Regions from separate parts of the Homo sapiens genome. Here all the other regions are linked to region 1. Evidence: promoter capture Hi-C in human tissues and cell types (Jung and others, 2019). All regions are on one chromosome and are shown on one strand. The core of a region is centred on a gene start or on the middle of the fragment in contact, and the rest is flanking DNA. Distances in the headings are between cores, read along the strand shown.

Region 1 (2,700 bases), core at 90-2,589:
CTCATACCACAGGGGACTTGCTTCATTGAGACAGTTGAGCAATTTGGGGAGTTTTGGATGGGGCAATTTGTTTAGCATCCAAACCTTTTACAAAGCACGCCTTTCTTATCACCCATTCCCCAAATTACAAAAGCAGAGAAGATCATGATCAGCGGGCATGGGACAAAAGAGGCAATCTTTTTTATTTTTGTTTTTCTTTAACAATCTGAAACAACGGCCACTCCTACAAGCACAGTTTTCCAAGAATACCCAACCCAGGACAAGTTAAAGAACTGCCAGCACACAAGGGAAGAAGGAAAAAGGAAAGAACGACAAGGCCCAGAGCGATCAGGGCTAACACAGAAACCCCCTGGGGCACCCAAACAGGAAGAGGGGACTCGAGTGATGAAATCCACAAGCTGCTTCCATGAAATCAACATGTTTGAAAAAGGGACCTCCTCAAAGAAAACGAGATTCCAACTCTCTTCAGCGCAGTGCGAGCCACCGGTGGCAGGCACCGTTGCAGGGAACCTGAACTAACTCCATGCCATGCAGCCCCCAACTTTCTGGCCTGAGGATGCGCAGTCCCCGAACCCAACCACTCCTGTGCACATCTCCTTGTAAGTTATCTCCCCAGCCTGCTCACCCATTTGTGGCTTGGAAAACATAAATTGCGGGCTTTGCTCCCCAAGACGGCTGAAGGACGGACCCTTCGCTGATGGCCACGGGCCCTAATAGAAACAAACTAAGACTGTCTCCTAGGCACCTTAAATAACTGCAAACAAGCACTGTACCACGTGGAAGTCACACTTGGGTGGGGGGCAGTGTCACATCACCAGGCAGCCACCACAAACCTAGAATTTTCATGGTCCTGAGATGTCGCATTCCCCTTCTTATAAAGAATGGAAGACGGCAGCCCAGGGGCTCACAGGGACTAGCGTTGTCACATGGCTAGTTGGTGACCCAGCCACAAAGAGCCTAGCTATCCTGATTCCTAGGTGGAGATTTCTATCCCCTGGGCCTTTCCTCTTCCAAACCACGACTCTCAAAACAGTGATCATTTTAGAATCCACAAGTGTGGCTGATTAATAACACTGTCGATCGTAAGAGTGTAGCAGCAAAAGCTGTAATAAAAGCAATAACCGTAACATTAAGAAGAAAACAACTTGAACATTGTGGAGAGCTTTGTGTTTTTCACTTCTGCGGCCCAAAGCCAGCCAAGTTCCTTGAAGTCAGCACCGAGAGGTATTTGCAAGAATTAAGTGAATCAAAGTCCTTGAAAGAGCGAGGAAGCGCCCCTGCCCCGGCGGCGGTACTCACCAGCGCTCCCTCCGCAGGTGCTGGGCTGGAGGCGGCGGCCAGGTGGAGCGCAGCGCCCCGGGTATATATGGCGAAGGTGTTGCGCAAAGAGGCTGGCCGCTGTCATCACGCCCCTCGCACATTCCAGGACCGCCTGCCGCAGCCGCCGCCGGGGCACTGCCTACCTGCCGCCTTAATGAACCCATCGCGACTTCGCCCGCTGCGCGGAGAAGACGCGCGGCCAGCCAGGCTGCCGAGAGAAAAGCTCCGACGGGCCCCGCCGCGCGAACTGGCCCGAACGGCCCCAAACGGCCCCGCGCCCCTCGGCGCCCCGCGCGCCCTAGCCTGGCTGGTGCGCGCCCTCTCCCGCCCCGACTCGGTCCGCACGAGATTCCCGCAAGTGGGGCTCTCCCGCCCCTGCCTTCTCCTCAAGAACTTGAACCTTCTAGTCTAGCTCCTGTGAGGCTCAAGAGGTCAGAGACGTGAAGACACAGATAAAAGCCAGTTGGAAAGTCAGGGATAAAGCCCTTGGAAACAAAGCCTGGATTGTTCACCTTTATCAGTCTGTGGGGCGCTTTCTGCCCTGGGAGTCTGGGCTCTAGGTCCGCAATGGGAAAGGCTGGGACCGTCAAGCTGAGGAAAAGGAAGGGGGCTGTTCTCACCACTCCGTCCTAAGCCTGCTGCGGGTTTGGCAAACCACTGCGCTCGTTTCACATCCTGCTCTGCCTCGTGTCACCTGCGTGTGTATACAACAGTTCTCCAAACTGCTGTGAGATAGGATCTGTCCCAGGGAGAGTCCACCCCCATGCTTATCCCAACAGCTCCCCAGTTCTGTGCCGGGCACTGCTGGGCAGGCTTTGTCTCCAATGTGCACACGAAAGCCTTCCCTGGGGCTAAGACTGGCGCCCTCTCTAGCTGAGGTTTAAGGGGTTAGGGGATATGATACAATTACCCAGGATTTGCTGAGCAGGAAGAAAACCTGCTTCTTATTCTGAAACCCAGACCCTCTCCTCTGCTGCGCACTCTCCTGGTTTTATAGTGGAGCACAGTGAGGCTCAGTGAGCTTACTAGTTGCCCAGCTCCTCACAACAGCGGAAGCACCCTACTGGAATTAGCTGGTTTCATTCCAACATCGAGTTCTCTCCACTGTGCAAGGGGAAGGACTCGGGAGCACGACTTCCAGGAGCCTAGAGCTCTGGGGCTGGTGTTGGCGGTGGCTAAGCACACTGACTCTGGGCCGAAACTCCGGGAAATCAGTTCCCTGTTCTGCCCCTTGCTTTCCCTGGCTCCATTTGCTTATGTGCAAACTGGGAATAATGGTCCCCGTTGGAGTAAAGTGAGCTAAAATATGTAAAGAATGTGGAATGGTACTTGGCACATAAATAGTATTCAGTGCGAGTTAACCATGATCGTTTTCACAGG
Region 2 (2,700 bases), core at 68-2,567, 150 kb after region 1:
TACACTTACTAAGCAAATACTTTAATAAGTAGATCCCATAGCACAGGTGATTAATTTAACAAGACGACTTGATGTGACTGGGCGATTTAATTAACTAGAGGCTAAATGGATTTTCCTGAATCACTAATCCAGGAACACAGCCTCTCCGGTTTGCTGAAATGTAGCCATGCCTATGGTAATTTCTGGAAATATTGCTTATTCATAAAGGGACTTTCTCAGTACAGTGTGTGGAGAAGCCTAGAATTGAGGTAGAGAAGGAAAGCCAAAGGGCTATATTGTCTTCGATTATTCAAAAAACTGGTCTGCAAATTAAGGATTAAGTTTATTCTGTGGTTCCCTGAGGGGTGGAATTAAATCCAATAGGAGAAAATGACAGGGAACAGATTTCTACTCAGAATAAGGAAGGACGTTTTGTCCATCAGAGCTTTCAGAAAAAAGGGTGGGGGGAGGCTGTCTCTGAAAGTAATGAGCCTCCTGTCACTGGAGGTGACCAACCCTAGGCTGCATGAGCCCTTAAGTCCTATGTCTGTGTAGTGTTTTAGAGCTTCATATACATGCATGAGCTCGAAAGGAAGTTTATTGTCCTTATCCCCTTTTTACAGATGAAGAAATTGAGGTTTTGGGGAATATGCCCCTTGCCAGGTGTCACACAGGAGGGAGGTGGCACCACCAGGATGGGACCTCAGGTCTTTTAACTTCAACACAGGTGCTCAGTCCACTCAGGCAAGCCCCAGTGAGAGCGGTTATTCACCAATCCTGGCTCATCACTGGGTCACTGGGAATGCTTGGGGAACTTTTTTTTTTTTTTTTTTTTGAGATGTGTCTCACTTCGTCACCCAGGCTGGAGTGCAGTGGTGCCATCTCGGCTGACTGCAACCTCCGCCTCCCAGGTTCAAGTGGTTCTCCTGCCTCAGTCTCCTGACTAGCTGGGATTACAGGCACGCACCACGACGCCTGGCTAATTTTTGTATTTTTAGTAGAGATGGGGTCTCACCATATTGGCCACGCTGGTCCCAAACTCAAGTGATCTGCCTGTCTCAGCCTCCCAAAGTGCTGGGATTACAGGTGGGAGCCACCTCGCCTGGCCTCCATTTCTTAAGCTAAGTGGAACACAGGATGATGTGGTGACTCAGCCCCTCCACTGTTTTATATGACTGAGCTAATTCACTATAAAAATTTTAAGGCTTCTCATTGATGCTGTAAGCAACTAGGTTTGGGATCCATTAGGTGATCTCTAGGGTCTTTCTCAACCCTAAAATTATCTGACTTAAACAGCTGGAATGTGGGGGCAATTTCTGTAGCTCTACTGTAATTAGACCTGGTTCCCGCTGGGTTTACTAGTCACAGTTGTCAACGCAGTGCCCACGAGCCCACTCCCTGGCACAGAGTCAGAGATTTCGCTGTTGATCCAGACATTCAGCCAGCCCTGATGAAACCAGCTGCTCTCAGCAGTTCCAGGGCCATCATCACCTCTCTGGCTGCTGGAGCATCTGAGAGCATCCTGCAAAGTTTCTGGGTTGGCCCCATGTCAAGAAGAGCAGCTGCTGGCAGCAGGGGACTCAGTCAGTGTGTGTCCTACAAACCTCTTTAGGTAATTCTGCTTTAATCTGCCGCTCTCACATTTGGTTACAAGGATGACTGGTTTCACAGCACAGACTGACATGCAGCTGTCCCCACCGGCCACTGTCTCCAGGAGTTAAGCTGTGCGGGAGTTGCTTAAGCACAGGGTGGCAGGTGCAAGGTAAGAGGCAGAGCCCGTGCAGCCTCCATCCTTAGGAATGACTGAGTAGGACTGGCCAGGAGCTTGGGACTACCGGCCCCACATTCAGCCTGACCTGATTACTGTTTACAAGCAGAGAAGCCAAGAGGTTTGTGTAGAAATGAGAGTGTGCATAATCCAAGCGTGGAAGAATCCACCCACCCACAGTCCTCCAAGCTTTACAGAGCATCTCAAGAATCAGAATACCCAGGGACATAGTATGTTTCTATCATTGCTTAAGCCAGCAGTTTCCAAAGTGGGGGTGAATGCACCCCAGACATCACAAGACAATTCATGAAGGTGAAGGGACATAACAGAACCTCTGTAATCTTGATCTCTTTTTGTTTGTTTGTGCTTTTTTTTGTTTGTTTGTTTTCAGACAGGGTCTTACTCTGTCACCCAGGCTGGAGTGCAGTGGCACGATCTTGGCTCACTGCAACCTCCTCCTCCTGGGTTCAAGCAATTCTCCTGCCTCAGCCTCCCGAGTAGCTGGGATTACAGGCACATGCCACCATGCCTGGCTAATTTTTTTGTATTTTTTTGGTGGAGATGGGGTTTCACCATGTTAGCCAGGCAGGTCTTGAACTCCTGGCCTCAAGTGATCCACCTGTCTCAGCCCCCTCAAAGTGCTGGGATTACCGCCTATCTTAATCTTAAATTTATAATTTTAAAGTATTTTATAAGGTACCTATTTTGCTGCACAACAATCATCATAATAAGTAATGTCAATGAGTTTTTATTCTATGTCAGGCAACATTCTAATAGCTTACATATATCATTTCATTGAACCCCCACAACTCTATGAGGTAGGTATTATTAATTCTACTTTCCAGGCACAGAAAGGTCAAGCTATCCCTCTAAGATCACATAGTAGACAGGTGGCAGAACTGGGATTCGAACTCCATGGTCTGGCTGGAAAGTTTACATTCATAACTACTACT
Region 3 (2,700 bases), core at 145-2,644, 180 kb after region 1:
AAACATTTTCTCTTATTCTGTAGATTGTTTACCCTGTTGATAGTTTGTTTTGCTGTGCAAAAGCTCTTTAGTTTAATTAGGTCCCATTTGTCAATTTTTGTTTTGGTTGCAATTGCTTTTGGCATCTTCATCATGAAACCTTTGCCAGGGCCTATGTCCAGAATGGTATTTCCTAGGTTTTCTTCAAAGGTTGTTATAGTTTTACATTTTACATTTAAGTCTTTAATCCATCTTGAGTTGCTTTCTGTATATCGTGTAAGGAAGGGGCCCAATTTCAATCTTCTGCATGTGGCTAGCCAGTTATCTCAGCACCATTTATTGAATAGTGAGTCCTTTCCCCATTGCTTGTATTTGTCAACGCTGTCAAAGATCAGATGATTGTAGGTGTGTGGCTTTATTTCTGGGCTCTCTATTCTGTTCCATTGGTCTATGTATCTGCTTTTGTTCCACTACCATGCTGTTTTGGTTATTGTAGCCTTGTTGTAGAGTTTGAAGTTGGGCAATGTGATGCCTCCAGCTATGTTCTTTCTGCATAGGATTACTTTGGCTGTTCAGGCTCCGTTTTTGGTTCCGTATGAAATTTAGAATAGTTTTTTCTAATTCTGAGAAATATGTCATTGGTAGTTTGATAGAAATAGCATTGAATCTGTAAATTGCCTTGGGCAGTATAGCCATTTTAACAATATTGATTCTTCCTATCCATAAGCATGGAATGTTTTTCCATTTGTTTGCGTGTGTGTGTGTGTGTGTGTGTGTGTATACACATACACAATCAAATGTAAATATATATTCTTTTTTTTTTTTTTGAGACAGTGTCTTGCTCTTGTCACCCAGGTTGGAGTGCAGTGACATGATCTTGGTGCACTGCAATATCCACCTCTAGGGTTCAAGCAATTCTCCTGCCTCAGCCTCTTGAATAGCTGGGATTACAAGCACCCAACACCATGCCCAGCTAATTTTTGTATTTTTAGTACAAACAGGGTGTCACCATGTTGGCCAGGCTGGTCTTGAACTCCCGAACTCAGGTGATCCGCCCACCTCGGCCTCCCAAAGTGCTGGGATTGCAGGCACGAGCCACCACGCTGGGCAAATATATATTCTTATTTCTCCCATTTTCTTACCCAAAAGTTAGCCTTTTCTGAAACATTCTTCCCTACTTTGTTTTTTCACTTAGTAATATATTTTAGAATTTTTTCCAAATTATTACATAGTGTCCTCATTCTTTTTTTCAGCCACATAACATTTAATTGTATGAGTAAACCATCATTTATTTAGCAATATTCTAATTGACAATTTTGTTGTTTCCAATATTTTGAAGCTTAAACAGTGCCACAGTGAATGACTTTGTGTGCACATTTTTGTACACATACACAAGTATCTGCAGATAAATTCCCCAGGGGTAGAAGTGGTGAGTCAAGCAAAAGCATCATATTCCCACATGGCCCCACAGGATGGATGCTGTTTAGCCATCCAAAAGCAATGTGTTAGAGCATGTGTCTCCCCACAGCTTCACCAACAGAGTGTGTTACCAAATTTGTGACATCCTGCCAATCTCAGAGATAAAAATGTTAGCTCAATGTCATTTTAGTTTATTTTTCTTATTATGAGTAAAGTTGGGCATATTTCCATCAATTTAAGAACCGTTTATACTTCCTTTGCTTTATTTTTCTTTTTTTATTCTTTTGAGATGGAGTTTCATTCTTGTTGCCCCAGGCTGGCGTGCAATGGCACGATCTCAGCTCACTGCAACATCCGCCTCCCAGGTTCAAGCGATTCTTGTGCTTCAGCCTCCCAAGTAGCTGGGATTACAGGCGCCCACCACCACACCCGGCTAATTTCTTGCATGTTTAGTAGAGACGGGGTTTCACCATGTTGGCTAGGCTGGTCTTGAACTCCTCACCTCAGGTGATCTGCCCGCCTCAGTCTCCTAAAGTGCTGGGATTACAGGCGTGAGTCATCACGCTGGGCCCTTCCTTTGCTTTAAACTACCTGTTTATTTGTTCACTTACTTACTTATTTAACTTATTTTTGCTCATTGAAAAAAAAAATCACACAAAACCTATATTAGTTTCTAACAAAAAGGCATGAATTATAGGAATAGCAAAAGACTCATAGAGAAATTAAAATTTATCTGAAAGCCATCTTTAGTCAGGAAGACTTCTTCACAGACAAATAAGTAGTTAAATATATAAATCCTAAATATATCACACCATAAGCTATTTTTTTCTTCCTCTTTGGTTATGAGCTATTCCAGGGAGATTTAATAAGAGCTTTTTATTCAAGGATTTCCAAAAATGTCTACTCTAAAACACAAAGTGAAATTGCTCTTACAAAAATGTTGGTTTGATGAAAAGATAGAGTTCAGTCTGTTTTAGACGAATTTGGTTAGATTTTATTTATTTATACTTAACAACCAATGCGATACTATAGTTTTAAACTATACTTCATGTTACTACCATCATTTACTCAGAAGGCAATACTTTTTTTTAAAAAAAAAAGGGCAAACTAAATTTTAAATTAGGTTTCAGAATTCTACTCATAAATAGTCAATCAATATTGACATAGATGCCATCAAGTATGCAAAGATGAACAGAATTTCAGTTACAAAATTTGGAGGAAAAAGCTTAATAACATATAAAAATACTGACAAATTTAAGCTAGGATTGGCTCTAGGACATTTTATCTTATTTTTATACTTGT

What was found. The method cuts DNA at HindIII sites, captures the fragments that hold promoters and counts their contacts. A contact is called where the count stands out against the background at its distance.
Region 2: a contact is called between a fragment that was not itself captured here and the fragment with the promoter of SLC34A2 in region 1, in 1 of the 25 tissues and cell types used here (IMR-90 fibroblasts).
Region 3: a fragment that was not itself captured here is called in contact with the fragment with the promoter of SLC34A2 in region 1 in 3 of the 25 tissues and cell types used here (H1 embryonic stem cells, aorta and small bowel).

The regions. Positions count from the first base shown.
Region 1 is chr4:25,654,490-25,657,189 of GRCh38, reverse strand. SLC34A2 (solute carrier family 34 member 2) reads right to left here and starts at 1,339. Exons shown (of 13, transcript NM_006424.3): 1 at 1,300-1,339. RefSeq lists an enhancer at 976-1,889. The HindIII fragment of the contact is 21,396 bases long and covers 1-2,700 here.
Region 2 is chr4:25,499,819-25,502,518 of GRCh38, reverse strand. No RefSeq gene overlaps it. Among named protein-coding and RNA genes, the nearest start is that of ANAPC4, 120 kb to the right of the region's middle. The HindIII fragment of the contact is 7,490 bases long and covers 1-2,700 here.
Region 3 is chr4:25,476,183-25,478,882 of GRCh38, reverse strand. No RefSeq gene overlaps it. Among named protein-coding and RNA genes, the nearest start is that of ANAPC4, 100 kb to the right of the region's middle. The HindIII fragment of the contact is 4,875 bases long and covers 1-2,700 here.